Linked DNA regions of Homo sapiens: regions 1 and 2 are each linked to region 3. The links are contacts of gene promoters, found by promoter capture Hi-C in blood cells and fetal thymus (Javierre and others, 2016). All regions are on one chromosome and are shown on one strand. The core of a region is centred on a gene start or on the middle of the fragment in contact, and the rest is flanking DNA. Distances in the headings are between cores, read along the strand shown. Region 1 overlaps CD101 (CD101 molecule). Region 2 overlaps TTF2 (transcription termination factor 2). Region 3 holds the start of CD2 (CD2 molecule).

The links. The method cuts DNA at HindIII sites, captures the fragments that hold promoters and counts their contacts. A CHiCAGO score of 5 or more calls a contact.
Region 1: a fragment that was not itself captured here is called in contact with the fragment with the promoter of CD2 in region 3 in 12 of 17 cell types (naive CD8 T cells, naive CD4 T cells, non-activated CD4 T cells and 9 more); the score reaches 10.1 in naive CD8 T cells.
Region 2: a fragment that was not itself captured here is called in contact with the fragment with the promoter of CD2 in region 3 in 3 of 17 cell types (naive CD8 T cells, fetal thymus and naive CD4 T cells); the score reaches 6.7 in naive CD8 T cells.

Annotation. Positions count from the first base shown.
Region 1 is chr1:117,024,406-117,028,466 of GRCh38, reverse strand. CD101 (CD101 molecule) reads right to left here. Exons shown (of 10, transcript NM_001256106.3): 8 at 2,563-2,958. CD101-AS1 (CD101 antisense RNA 1) reads left to right here. Exons shown (of 4, transcript NR_110786.1): 4 at 1,681-2,985. Among named protein-coding and RNA genes, the nearest start is that of CD101, 25 kb to the right of the region's middle. The HindIII fragment of the contact is 433 bases long and covers 2,271-2,703 here.
Region 2 is chr1:117,090,277-117,094,439 of GRCh38, reverse strand. It overlaps TTF2 (transcription termination factor 2), which reads right to left. Exons shown (of 23, transcript NM_003594.4): 15 at 3,817-3,908; 16 at 3,030-3,112; 17 at 2,490-2,623; 18 at 1,539-1,709. Among named protein-coding and RNA genes, the nearest start is that of MIR942, 2.3 kb to the left of the region's middle. The HindIII fragment of the contact is 177 bases long and covers 1,207-1,383 here.
Region 3 is chr1:116,753,042-116,757,206 of GRCh38, reverse strand. CD2 (CD2 molecule) reads right to left here and starts at 2,777. Exons shown (of 5, transcript NM_001767.5): 1 at 2,654-2,777; 2 at 2,256-2,576. The coding sequence starts at 2,714. RefSeq lists promoters at 2,660-3,102, 2,660-4,165, a cis regulatory region at 4,161-4,165 and a silencer at 4,024-4,165. The HindIII fragment of the contact is 7,255 bases long and covers 224-4,165 here.

The DNA of each region.
Region 1 (4,061 bases), core at 1,238-3,737, 270 kb before region 3:
ACAGTTACTCTGAACTCAGTTCCAGCCCAACTTATTCAAAACTGAACTAATCTTCCCCTCCAAATCCCTCTCATATATTACCTTGCTTGGTAAATGACCCGACTATCCATCTAAGCTAGAGTCCAAATGTTAATCCTTAATTCTCTCCTTCTGCTCCTTTGCCCTCTATATACAATGAATCAGCCTCTAAATCCTGAAGATTACACCTCCTAATACCTAATGCCTGTTCTTTTCTTAGTCGTCATGGGTACCGCCTTAGCTCAGGCCTTCATCTTTCCCCAGTTGGGTTTCCACAATTTCATATACTACCTGCACTGTACTGTGGACCTCCCCTCCAATTCACTTATTTTATTTTATTTTATTTATTTATTTATTTATTTTGAGACAGAGTTTTGCTCTTGTTGCCCAGGCTGGAGTGCAATGGCGTGATCTCGGCTCACCGCAACCTTCCCCTCCTGGGTTCAAGCGATTCTCCTGCCTCAGCCTCCCGAGTAGCTGGGATTACAGGCATGGGCCACCATGCCCGGCTAATTTTTAGGATTTTTAGTACACACAGGGTTTCTCCATGTTGGTCAGGCTGGTCTCAAACTCCCAACGTCAGGTGACCCGCCCGCCTTGGCCTCCTAAAGTGCTGGGATTACAGGCACGAGCCACTGTGCCCGACCTCCAATTCATTTTAATGTGGGAACTTTCTAAAAGGAAAATCTGATCATGTCACTCCCCTGCTTAAACTTTTTCAATGACACTCCATCACTGTCATGATAAAGTTCTTCCTTCTTAGCTTCATACTCTAGACACATTTGGGATCTATCATCTGTTCCTTTCCCTCCTCACTGGTCTCATCTCTTGCCACTGTACCATAGAGACTGCAGTTCCTGCCATTCTCAATGACCAGGAGTTCCCCGAATATAACATGAAATTTTACATCTTATTATCATCTTGCATACTCTTTCATGTTCTTAAAATATGTTTCTTCCTTTTCATGAGCCCCAGACTCTGGGGAACCTTCCCAGATCATCTCCCTACCTAGCACTTCACCCCAGCCCTGCCTCTGTTGTTCCCCTAGTCTACTGGAAATACTTCTTTGATGACACCTGTTATGTTGGACTTGATTTCTCCCACTGGATTCCAAGCTCGGTGGGAACAGACTCTGTCATGTACACTTTTGTGGCCTCAGAACCTGATATAGTTATTTATTAAACAAGTGTCATTATTTTGTCACATAGATGTACACATGTAGGTATGTGTGTACCTGTGTGTATATGTATGTGCAGCGGGTTTGGAGGCATAAGGGGAAAAGGAGATTACATTTGCTGAGCACTGACAATGTGCCAAGCACTGTACTGGATACTTTATACATATTTATATTGTGATCTTCATTTTATAGAAAGCTGAGGCTCACAGCAAGTAACCAGCGTATGATTTCATAGCTGGTATTGGTAGTAGAGCTGTGATTTGAGCCTAGGCTGGTCAGATTCCAGCCCCTGGGATTTTTTATCACCCCACACTGCCTCCCTGACTACCAGGAAGGAACAGCCAGGTGGAGGAGCCCAGAAGGTACATTACAGGGATTTCCTTGGAAATCCTCAACATTAATTACCCTCAAAACCCTCAGTTTGTCATGACAAAGGTTTTCTGAAGAATACGAAGGCCACTCAATTTTTAATGTTTTCTTTCCAGGTTTATCTTTTAAAAACCGTATACCTGTTTTACAAGGATCTCACAAAGATTAACAATATGTATGCTATGAAGGATCCCATCTGCCTCAGAGAAGATACGCTTTTCATCACAGACTGTATACTTTTTACAGTTCTTATCTATTTATTCTACTGCAAAAACTGCCGATTCTACAGAGCCTATTAATTCCACTGGGAAAACATGTACGGAATGTGCTCATGAGTATGGGACTTCCTGTAATTGTTGGAAAGAAGAAAAAGGCTGATAGAAAAAACATTTTGGCCTGGCACTCAGGAGAAAACTTCTGCTGAGGAATGAACAGGGAAAAACAATGATGGACCACCTCAAGGAACAAATCGGATAGCTTCGACTTCCCCTCTGGAAGCCCTGCTGCGCTGGGATGCACCTATCCCTACTTCTTAGATGTTCCCATATGTTCTCAACAGCATTCTGTCCCTCCTAAGCAGTGTCACTAAAGCTAGCTGGTCTCTTAGGATTGTTACCTTTATTGATGATTTTCCCTTTGTGCTTCCTGGTGTCTGGCACCAAGACCACACCCCTACTTCTCCAATGGCCCTTTCCCTCAGTAAGCTTAGCTTATTGCTCACCTCCCACCTTCTCCCTGAACCCCAGCAGAAAGACATGGACCTGTCAGATGCTCCCGATATTTAAGTGTCTATGCCAAAATCTCATGTGGACCTTGTTTGTTCAAATGAGTTACTATTGAGAGAGACAGCAAAGTCATCTTCTTTAGGGAACCTGAAAATTGTCTTCAGTCTGAAAATTGTCTTCAGAAGGAGCAAAAGATAGGTGAGAGGGAGAGGATAAGAGGAGAGCCATGTATTCTCCTGACCATGAGCTCGCGGTAGATAAACCCCTGGTTACCTGAAGGCAGCACCGTGAGCACCATCCGCTGTGACTCATCGGATGCTTGATTAATCCACTTGCTTGGGTGTCCATGGAGCTGCCACTCTGCCACCCTACACCAGTACATTCCTGCATCCTCCATCTCCACCTGATGAAGCTTCAGGACAAAGTCTGTAGAGGATGAACGGTAACAGTGCAGGTGCCTCCTGAGCCCCTCTTCCCCATACTCCAGCAAGCCATCATGTTGCAAGTGCACCAGCAATTTACTTCCAGAGTTTTCTCTGTTCCAGTACCACATCACAGAGTACAGAGTGGCTGAGCTGCCTACACTCTCCAGGCTGCAGCGGATGGCCACTTCTCTGTGCTCAGTCACATTTTCGGTCCAGTACACTTTGGAGACACGTACCTTACTTCCTAGAAAATAAAATGGCAGTAAATTAGAGAATGCAGACTTTCAGATTTGGATACCACCTCTGAAAAATCTAGTTCTCACTGGGAAGATCTTATATTCTTTAGACATCAGTGCATTCATTTTATTTTTTTTATTATTTTTATTTTTTGAGACAGAGTCTTGCTCTGTCACCCAGGCCAGAGTGCAGTGGCATGATCTCAGCTCACTGCAACCACTGCCTCCTGGGTTCAAGCAATTCTCCTGCCTCAGCCTCCCAAGTGGCTGGGATTACAGGCGTGTGCCACCATGCCCAGCTGATTTTTGTATTTTTAGTAGAGACGGGGTTTCACCATGTTGGCCAGATTGCTCTTGAGCTCCTGGCTTCAAGTGATCTGCCCACCTCAGCCTCCCAAAGTGTTGGGATTACAGGCATGAGCCACCACGTCCAGCCACATTCATTTTAATTCTTGTCCTTGGTCCCTGTTTTTCTCTCACATTTGCCAGGACATTCTCTGCTAGGAATCAAACCAGCCTCTTTCCTTCTTTAGCCCAACTGCTTGCCTGCTGGACCCTGCCATTGAAAACTACACAGCTTCTGCAGGGCCCTCTGCCTGCTGCTTTTACTTACCCTTGATTCACTCCTCCTCTACTTCCCAAAGTGGTCATTCACAACTTTTAGCAGCTCCCTCAAGCCATGTATTCCACCAGTACCCCTCATTCTTAGCAAATTACTCTCCTCCCATACACCCAGATATTATCTTGGGTGTAAACGCAGAGAGAGAGGACGCCATCCAAGAGACTGAACATTTTGATGCAAGTGTTAGAAGGCCATCCATGGGAGCTATTTAGATGATTGGATTAGACTGAGTTTTAAAGAGATTTTGACATTTACTTTTTTTCCCCTTGCTAACCAGCAGGTGAGGATTTAGAATAACAGCCAAAGTAGTTACAAACAAAATAAAGAAATTATAGTGTGCATTACATTTTCAATTCCACTACAAACACATTTATTTATTTATTTATTTATTTATTTATTTTTATTTTATTTATTTTTTGAGACGGAGTCTCGCTCTGTCGCCCAGGCTAGAGTGCAGTGGCACAATCTTGGCTCACCGCAACCTCTGCC
Region 2 (4,163 bases), core at 46-2,545, 340 kb before region 3:
GCTGGGCTCATTCTTCCCAGCTGCTCATGTGAAAAACCTTTCAAGAGCCTCTAAGGGCCCCAGAGTTCACCCCCAGAATGCTGGAGAAGGAAGAAAACTGGGCTGTAAGTCAATCAGGAGACAAATATACAGAAGTTCTTCCTCTGTCCTCATATGGCTGGACCACTTTGGGACTCAGATTCCTCATCAGTGAAAAGAAGGACTTAGGCCAGATAAATTCTGAGGTGCCCTGAGCTCCCACATTCTAGGATGTCATTACAGTGGTCACCACATGGGGCTGCTTTCCAATCTTAACAAACATTCTGGTGCCTAGGCAGGAAGTGAGTCACAGAACTGTACCATTCAAATTAGCAGACAGAAAAGCAGCTACATCTGTTATTTAGTTAACAATAGAACAGAGACACTGATGTGCCTGGTGTCTTGGCAACTTGAGATTGTGGAAGGCGCTGTGACTCCCACATGAAAAAGCTAGCCATGGTGTTTTGAGAAAACTGCAGCAGGAGGGCTGGATTTATGGCCCACGAGCCGGGGTCAAATTCCAGTAAGAAGCCTCCTTCCCTACTTGAAACAACCGTATGTGGTTTGAACTATTAATGGACATATGTTAAGAAAACTTGTGAATAAATATTACCTGCATTTAATTAAACAAGGAACACAAATGATTAGGAATTTAAATTTTAGCCCAATAGCTCACTCTGAAGGCACTAGCATGTGTGTTCTGGCCACATGGGATGCTCTTCTTATGTTTCTCTCAGCTATCAGTGGTAAAGACCTAGGTAAATGTTTTCAAATTTTAATTAAAAGGCAGCATTCCTTTTAAAAAATAATGCCATTCCCCTGGAAGTGACCTTTCTAGTTATTAATACACTTTTTCAAAAAAAGCCTTTGAAGAGAGGTTGAGCCCAAGAACGGCAGCTTGAGATGCTAAGAGAGAAACAAGCCTCACTTTCAAGACAGGCAGGATGATGAAGCACATTCCGAGCCAGCAGACAGGCAGGATTCAGGTTACGGCATATCTAAGCCTTCCTCCAGCAGAATGTTTCTGCCTTAAAAAGCTCTGACGAAAACAGAGCAGAATGACTAATGAAGACAGAAGGCTATGTAGGAAACACTACTCACATGTGGAAGCCTTTCAAAGTCAGAGCAATTGGCGCTCGCATGTATGACACAGTCTCTAGAGTCAAGCCTTTGTTTTCCTTTTAAGCTTTCTCTAAACAAATTGCTCACTTGCATAGGCCCCGTCCCTAGCACAAACCTGGCAAGCTCCCCAGTGACCCATGACAGAAAACCCACTTCAGTGCAATGCTGGGGTTGTCCCAAATTACTCTCTCAAAGTCCCCTATGTAGTAAGGCTTTAGTGTTATCTGTGAAATAAATGAAGCTTTAAGACTGGAGGGAGAATCTGATCAGCTAGAATTTAACGGCTCTAGCTCTGCTGGCAAATGGCTGTTCCCACTTGGACAAATGAAGTGCTGTCACACAGGAAAATGTGTGAGGAATCGAAGTCTCTCGACTACTACAGAGGAGACAAAAAGTACCTTGGTGCTCTCTCGCATGCCTTCAAAAAGCTCCATCTTGAAGAAGGTGCCGTTAAGGGAAACAGTGGAAGATGGCTCTGAGTCACGGAGTTCTGACAAGGTCAAAGCACTGAGCTGTTCTTCCAGGGAAAGGACAAGACCTTCACCCTTCAGTTCCATTGGATCCAGGGCCTGAACAGACAAAAAAGGACAGGAGCAGCTGGGAGTCAAGGGAGCAAACCTTGTTACTTGTTGATGATGTTTTGATTGTTTACCACTTCACAGAGCAAAATATCTTGTAATTTGTCATCAGTAACTCCTCAAGACACCTTGATTAAAGTGTGATCTTGCAAGTTTTTTCACCACATTAAAGATAAACCAAATGATGGAACTTTTTAAAGACTTGCCAGGCAGATGACATAATCATTCTATTTTTTCCAAGCTAGAATATAATTGAGATGTTGATAATCAGAATACATTATTACAGCTCCTTAAATGAATAGAATACTCCTCTTAATTTTGGATGTGCCTCTATCCAAGGTAGGGGCAACTTTTCAGTCTGTATAACTATCTGAGTTTTTATAACTGGAACCCAAAACCCCAAAACTGCCTGAAAGCAGAAAACCCCAAGAACTAAATTAGCTTTATGACATTCTGAAGTACCAGAGCATTCACAAATGGCTTCTTTTTAAACAAAATATCATTTTCTTTTCTTAAACAGTTAATCTAAAACAAAATAAACAATAGAAATACACTATTCTTGATGCCATAGGAATTATCAAGATTAATATGAAATAAAGCAAAATAAATAAGCCCCCTTTTCTCCAACCCACCAAAAAACAAAAATAGAAAAACCGAAACAGCATTTCCTTTGATCAAGCAGACTGGATTCCAGTTGGAGGAGAGTGAAATTGACTTCTCAGGTGGCCCCTCTGGAGCACTATATGACAGCAGGCTGAGGGCTTTTCTTACCGACTTCAGTAAAGAAAGATGACAGCAACACTGGCGGAGTCTCAGCAACTGGGACAGTATGTGGACGGTGCTGGATCTCGGTGAGTCTGCTGCCTCCGAGTGTCTAGGCTCCTCAGACCCAAACTCCAGTGCCACTTCCAAGAGGGAAGACAAGCCACAGGATGGTACAGGATTTAAAAGAGAAATACGGAGAGAGCCAGGAACTACATGGGGCTACTTTAACCATGTTTGATCTCAGACTCAATAATATAGTTACAACTCACTTCTATAGGCCACTTCAATTAGGCCAAATGAAATATCGGTTTTTCCTTATAGAACTACCTGCATTTTAATAAAGCAGATTTAGGAAACAATTAAAAAGAAGCTAAATAAACACCAGATCTCGTGTTTGCAATCAGTAGATTTTACTCTGGTTTGAGGGTCTTAGTTAACGCCAAATCTCTGATACCAAGGATTCATAACCTCACATTTCTGTGTTTTACTGAATCCAAATCCCCATTTTCACCAGTCATATGTATTTATGAGAGTCCTACAGCTTACCTCTACTGAATGGATTATTAGGGCTTCTTCCAGATTGGTTGCCTCTACTTTCATGTCTTTTTAGATAGGATTGCAGAGCTGACCTGCCTCAGATTAAAAAGAAAAAAAATGCATGTATAATGGTCACTAAGACCTGCTTAACTGTGCCTGCAGTGGGATCTTGACAAATTATAGAAGACTTGTTAAATGATGCCAAGCTCATAAGAAGCAATGGCCAAAGGTAATGCAAAAGAAACAGTTATTTTAAAAAACCAATCTTTTTTTAAAATAAGCTAACAAATATAAGGTGTAAAAGAAGAAAAAATATATTTACATTAGAAATGTAAATGAGAGGTACCAAATAGGAAACAGTAAATCTGGAATTCAGGGAAAGATAAGAGTTCAAGAGAAAGTGCAAAGAACAGATGACACAAAGGATTACAAAGTCATCTTCTTAAAGTTCCGGTGAGATGCTGGATGACAGGTCAAATGTCAAAGAGATATTATTATTCAGTACAGCCCCATGAGGACCAGACAGATTCAGTATATGGTGACCACACCCTATGACTTCTATGCAAGGAAGCCAATGAAGAGTAGGTTCAAAATTTTGCCTTCCATGTGTGTATGAGACAGAGGTAAGCTGGGGAGGGGAGAAGGAGAAAAATGGGGTAAAAAAAAAAAGGGAATACAGACATCCAACTAATCAATAATGCCATAAAGTTTGTGGAAATTTGACCTTCAACTCACTCCCAAGAAAAGACAGGAATAAAACAATGTGTGTGAGAAGGTGCTTCTTTAATACACACACCTTGATCTTGCAAAAAACACATTGTAAACAGTCTCTTCATCTTCAGAAAGCTTTAAATGGTGCAACTGAAATTTACGCTGGGGCAGTATCACCTGGAAGAATAAAAAAAAAAGCTGGCATGAAGCTATACAAATTAACTGCCTATTATAGAACAAATTCCCCATACTGACACTGCATATCTAGTCAACCCTGGAATGCAGCTTCCACCCTTTCTTAGACACAGGACTGCTCCAACATACAGTACAACTGGATTGCTATGACACTAGGCATGGAACTGCAACCCTGGGGCCTCCTCACAGGAGGATGGGAAACTCAGAGGCTCCTGAAGCAAAGCAGATGGCTGTTCA
Region 3 (4,165 bases), core at 1,528-4,027:
TGACCAACATGGCGAAACCCCGTCTCTACTAAAAATACAAAAATTAGCCGGACGTGGTGGTACATGCCTGTAATCCCAGCTACTTGGGAGGCTGAGGCAGGAGAATCGCTTGAACCTGGGAGGCAGAGGCTGCAGTGAGCTGAGATCATGCCAGTGCACTCCAGCCTGGGCAACAGAGCAAGATGCCATCTCAATTAAAAAAAAAAAAAAAAAAAGAGAAGCTTGGAGAAACAAAGAGATGTGGGAGGGCATTAGCACTGAGAAAACAGGCATTGTGCCCCAGGCACTGCAGGACACTTGTACACACCTTGTCTCACTGAATATCCCTTGAAGTTGTCATTGGAAAAGCAGACTCACAGCAGATAGGGAATTTGCCCAAGGCCATGGTCACCTTAAGTCTGGTAATAGTGACCAACTACAAGTTGAATCAAGATGTTGTATGACATTGACGTGCACACACATAAAGCAAGTCACTGTCTTTCGGCTAAAGGGTGAAGGGTTTCTTTTTGGGGCAATGAAAATGTTGATTGTGGTGATGGTTACAAAACTCTGAATATACTGAAGGCCATTTTAGTATATGGACAAATTGAATGGTAGATGAATTATCTCAATGAAGCTGCTTGGAAAAAAAAAGAAAAGGTCGTCATTCTTGCCAAAAAGACCTCTGAGTTTGAATCCTGACTTTGCTCCTGTCAAGCAATGAGACCTTGGACAAGCTGCTTCTGACTAGGTCTCTGTTTTCTTATATATAACAAGGAGATAATAACAACTAGGTCTCAGTATTGTTGGGCGCTTTAAATAAGATCATGTAAGCAAGCACTTGACCCCTAACTGGTAGCCATTATTTCCGCCGCAATGCTAAATGCGACCCAAATGTGAAAACACCAGCATGGTCCCCCGCGTAGGGCTCACACTCAAAACAGGACACTCGAGTTTTGTGCTGTTTGGAGTCCTGAGATCTGTGGTTTCCAGAGCCCATAATCAGAGGCCCTTTTCAGCGCCATGCTCAACCCCACTACATTTCTACAAGGTGCTCTCCACTCAAGGTTGCAGGACTAGGGTGTGGAAAGTTGTCACTTCAGGGGAGCTGACAGTGTCTGGGATTGCTGGAGTGGGCAATCTGACACTATCTGGGATTGCTGGTAGGCCCAGGTGCTGAAGATGGGGCTGGAGACAGAGAGGAAGAAGGTGGGGTCCCTGCTTCTGGTGATATTTTCTGTGTGAAGCACAGAAATGCTTATTTGCTCACTGAATGGCTGGCCTGTGCTCATGCTGGGGTTCCTGTCTGCCTCCCCAAGTCAAGCGCAGCTTCTTCTTTTCCCTTCTTGTCACTACTTCCCCAGCATCCCCCCGGGCTTTCAACTTCAATGGCATTTCGATTCCACTTTCTCTACCTTCTCTCCCTTGCCTAAGCCACCTTTCTCTATGCCTGACCCTTATTATCCTCATTCTTCCTATTTTAGAGGCACCCTTTGGTCTAGGCCAGTGGCGATTGACTTTGGCAGCTCATTAGAATCCCCCAGGGAGCTTTAGAACCTAATGATACCCAGGCCGCATGCAAAAAAAATCTGATTTAATTGGTCCTCACTCCACTTGGATTACAGCAGCAGCTTTCTAACTAGTCTCCCTAACCCCATCCTCAATATCCACTCCTGTCCTCCCAGTACAGGCAGAGATATACAAAGCCACACCTTGTGCATCTTCTACACATATCAGCAAAAATCACCTGCCACCTTGTATCACTCTGACAAGCAGATCCAAAATAAGGGCTGTTCATCCTTAAATATGTTGTTTCCAGCCCTTTTCTGCCATATAACTCCTCCTTCAGGGCAGCCTGGCTTGAAATGGGCTCTGTCGATGAAAGGCCCGCTGCTCTCCAGTCAGCCTCTTCTTCTCGCCCCACTCTTAGCTCGCCGATTCATCAGCAACCTGGAACAGTTGCCTTTTCCCTCGGCCTACCTGTGTCCCCCTCCCGATTAATGCCACCTTAATCCAGGTTCTTCACCCAACCCCACATTCCTGTAACCACCTGAAGACAGAGTTGTAGGCAGGTAGACTTGAGGGTCTATCAGATGTGTGGATCCCATTCCCGCATTGGACCACAGTCTCCACTGGGGCAGGAGACATGCATCTGGTTTCCTGTATAGCCCCCCTGGAGGCAGAGGTCAGCGCTGGGGAATATTAGAAATGCTATTTTCCAACTTGCCAAATAGCACCCACACTGAAATAAAGCAATTAAGGGAATGAACACTTACCTTGAATCTTCAAATCAAATATTTTTTCCAACACATTTTTTCCTTTTGTATCATATATTGATACCTTGTAGATATCCTGATCATCGGTCTTCAGATGCTTAATTTTCAGAGTTCCATTTTTAAATAGCTTATATGTATCTTTTTCCTTGAAAGTCTCTTTCTCTTTTCTGAATTGTGCAATCTTTTTCTTGTCTGAAGTTTTTTCCCATTTTATATCGTCAATATCATCACTCATTTGAAAACTAGGAATGTCCAAGTTGATGTCCTGACCCAAGGCACCCCAGGTTTCCAAGGCATTCGTAATCTCTTTGGAGACTGCACCTATAAAAAGCAAAAGAGTTACTGAGAGTCACTTTCAGGGAAAGCTGGGTTGGGACTTCTTTGACTCTTATGCTTACCTTTGGAAGAAACATTGAAAATCAGAAGGAAGCTGGCTACAAATTTACATGGAAAGCTCATCTTAGGGGTTGGTTTCCTCTTTTGATTCTGAGCTCTTCATGCAAAAGGAACTGAAGTGAGACTGGTGGAGTCCACACCCCGAGAGCTTAACCACGTGCCTCTCTTTACATCTTTTACAGTAACATAAAACATAATACACATACACAGAGAGCAAGAGCGCGCACAAGCCAGCCCTTCTGATGTGCTCCTTTGCCAAAGCAGATGTGTTTATGAGTGTGTGTTTTCTTGCTGCATTTTAATTCTCACACAAAAAAATTGGGAAGGATAGGTTTTCTCATCTCAGTGAAAGAGAAAAGGAACAGAGAGGCTAAGTAGATCACTAAGGATCACTCTTTTGTAAACAAGAAGCCAAATTCAACCACACAGCCTTTTATCCACTTAGGTATACTGTCCCTAACAAGACCACATAGAAATATAGGTAAATGTTCACAAGCCAATAGCAGAATGCAAACATTTATCCCATATGATTATATTGAAAAATGTAGACCCATAAAATGATGAGGAAATTGATTTTTTTGTTTCTCCAAAGATATTTTTCATGTTCTAAAATCGTTTTTGTGGTGAAAAGAAAGAAATTGAATATCAGCTGTAAATGCTTGCAATCCCCAAATCCTATGTTCGGCATACATTTTACAACTCTAGTGAAATTCACAGTTAGATAAATAAAAACTTATTCCAAAACAAAGAAGCATAGAGACTATGAAATATAATTAAACTACCAAAACAAAGGAGTCAAAAGCATTTAAAGTGATTAACATTATAGGTGGTTAAGAAAAAGGAGAGATTAGGAGAAAAAATAAATGAGAGGGAACAGGGAGAGAAAAAAAGAACAGAAATTTGTGACACAAGGAAACAGACAGTGATGCAGAGACGGGTGTGCCCTGAAAAGATGCCTAAAAAGAGAAATAACCATGACAGACTTCCAAAGCACATTTTCAGGGTTATAATTCTTTAGGTCACAGTGAGTAAAAATTGCAAAAGTGGTGCTCGTTTTCTTTTTCAACTTTAAGTACAAATATGGATATTATCTGTCAGAAAGTTGCCAAGGAAATGAAATTAAGTCAAAGCAGTTGTTTGCTGTTACTGGGTAAAAGAAAGCCAAATATTTACCTCATGGTTGTATGAGCGTCATCCACAATAATGAACTACAGTTGGATTAAAGTTTTAAATGCAAAAATACTATAATAATGCTAAAAGGAGGCCGGGGGTGGTGGATCACAGCTATAATCCCAGCACTCTGGGAGGTCGAGGCGGACCTCCTCACCTGAGGTCAGGAGTTCAAGACCAGCCTGGCCAACATGGTGAAACCCATCTCTACTAAAAATACAAAAATTAGCCAGGTGTGGTGATGTGCGCCTGTAATCCCAGCTACTCAGGAGGCTGAGGCAGGCAAATTGCTTGAATCTGGGAAGCGGAGGTTGCAGTGAGCCAGGATTGTGCCACTGCACTCC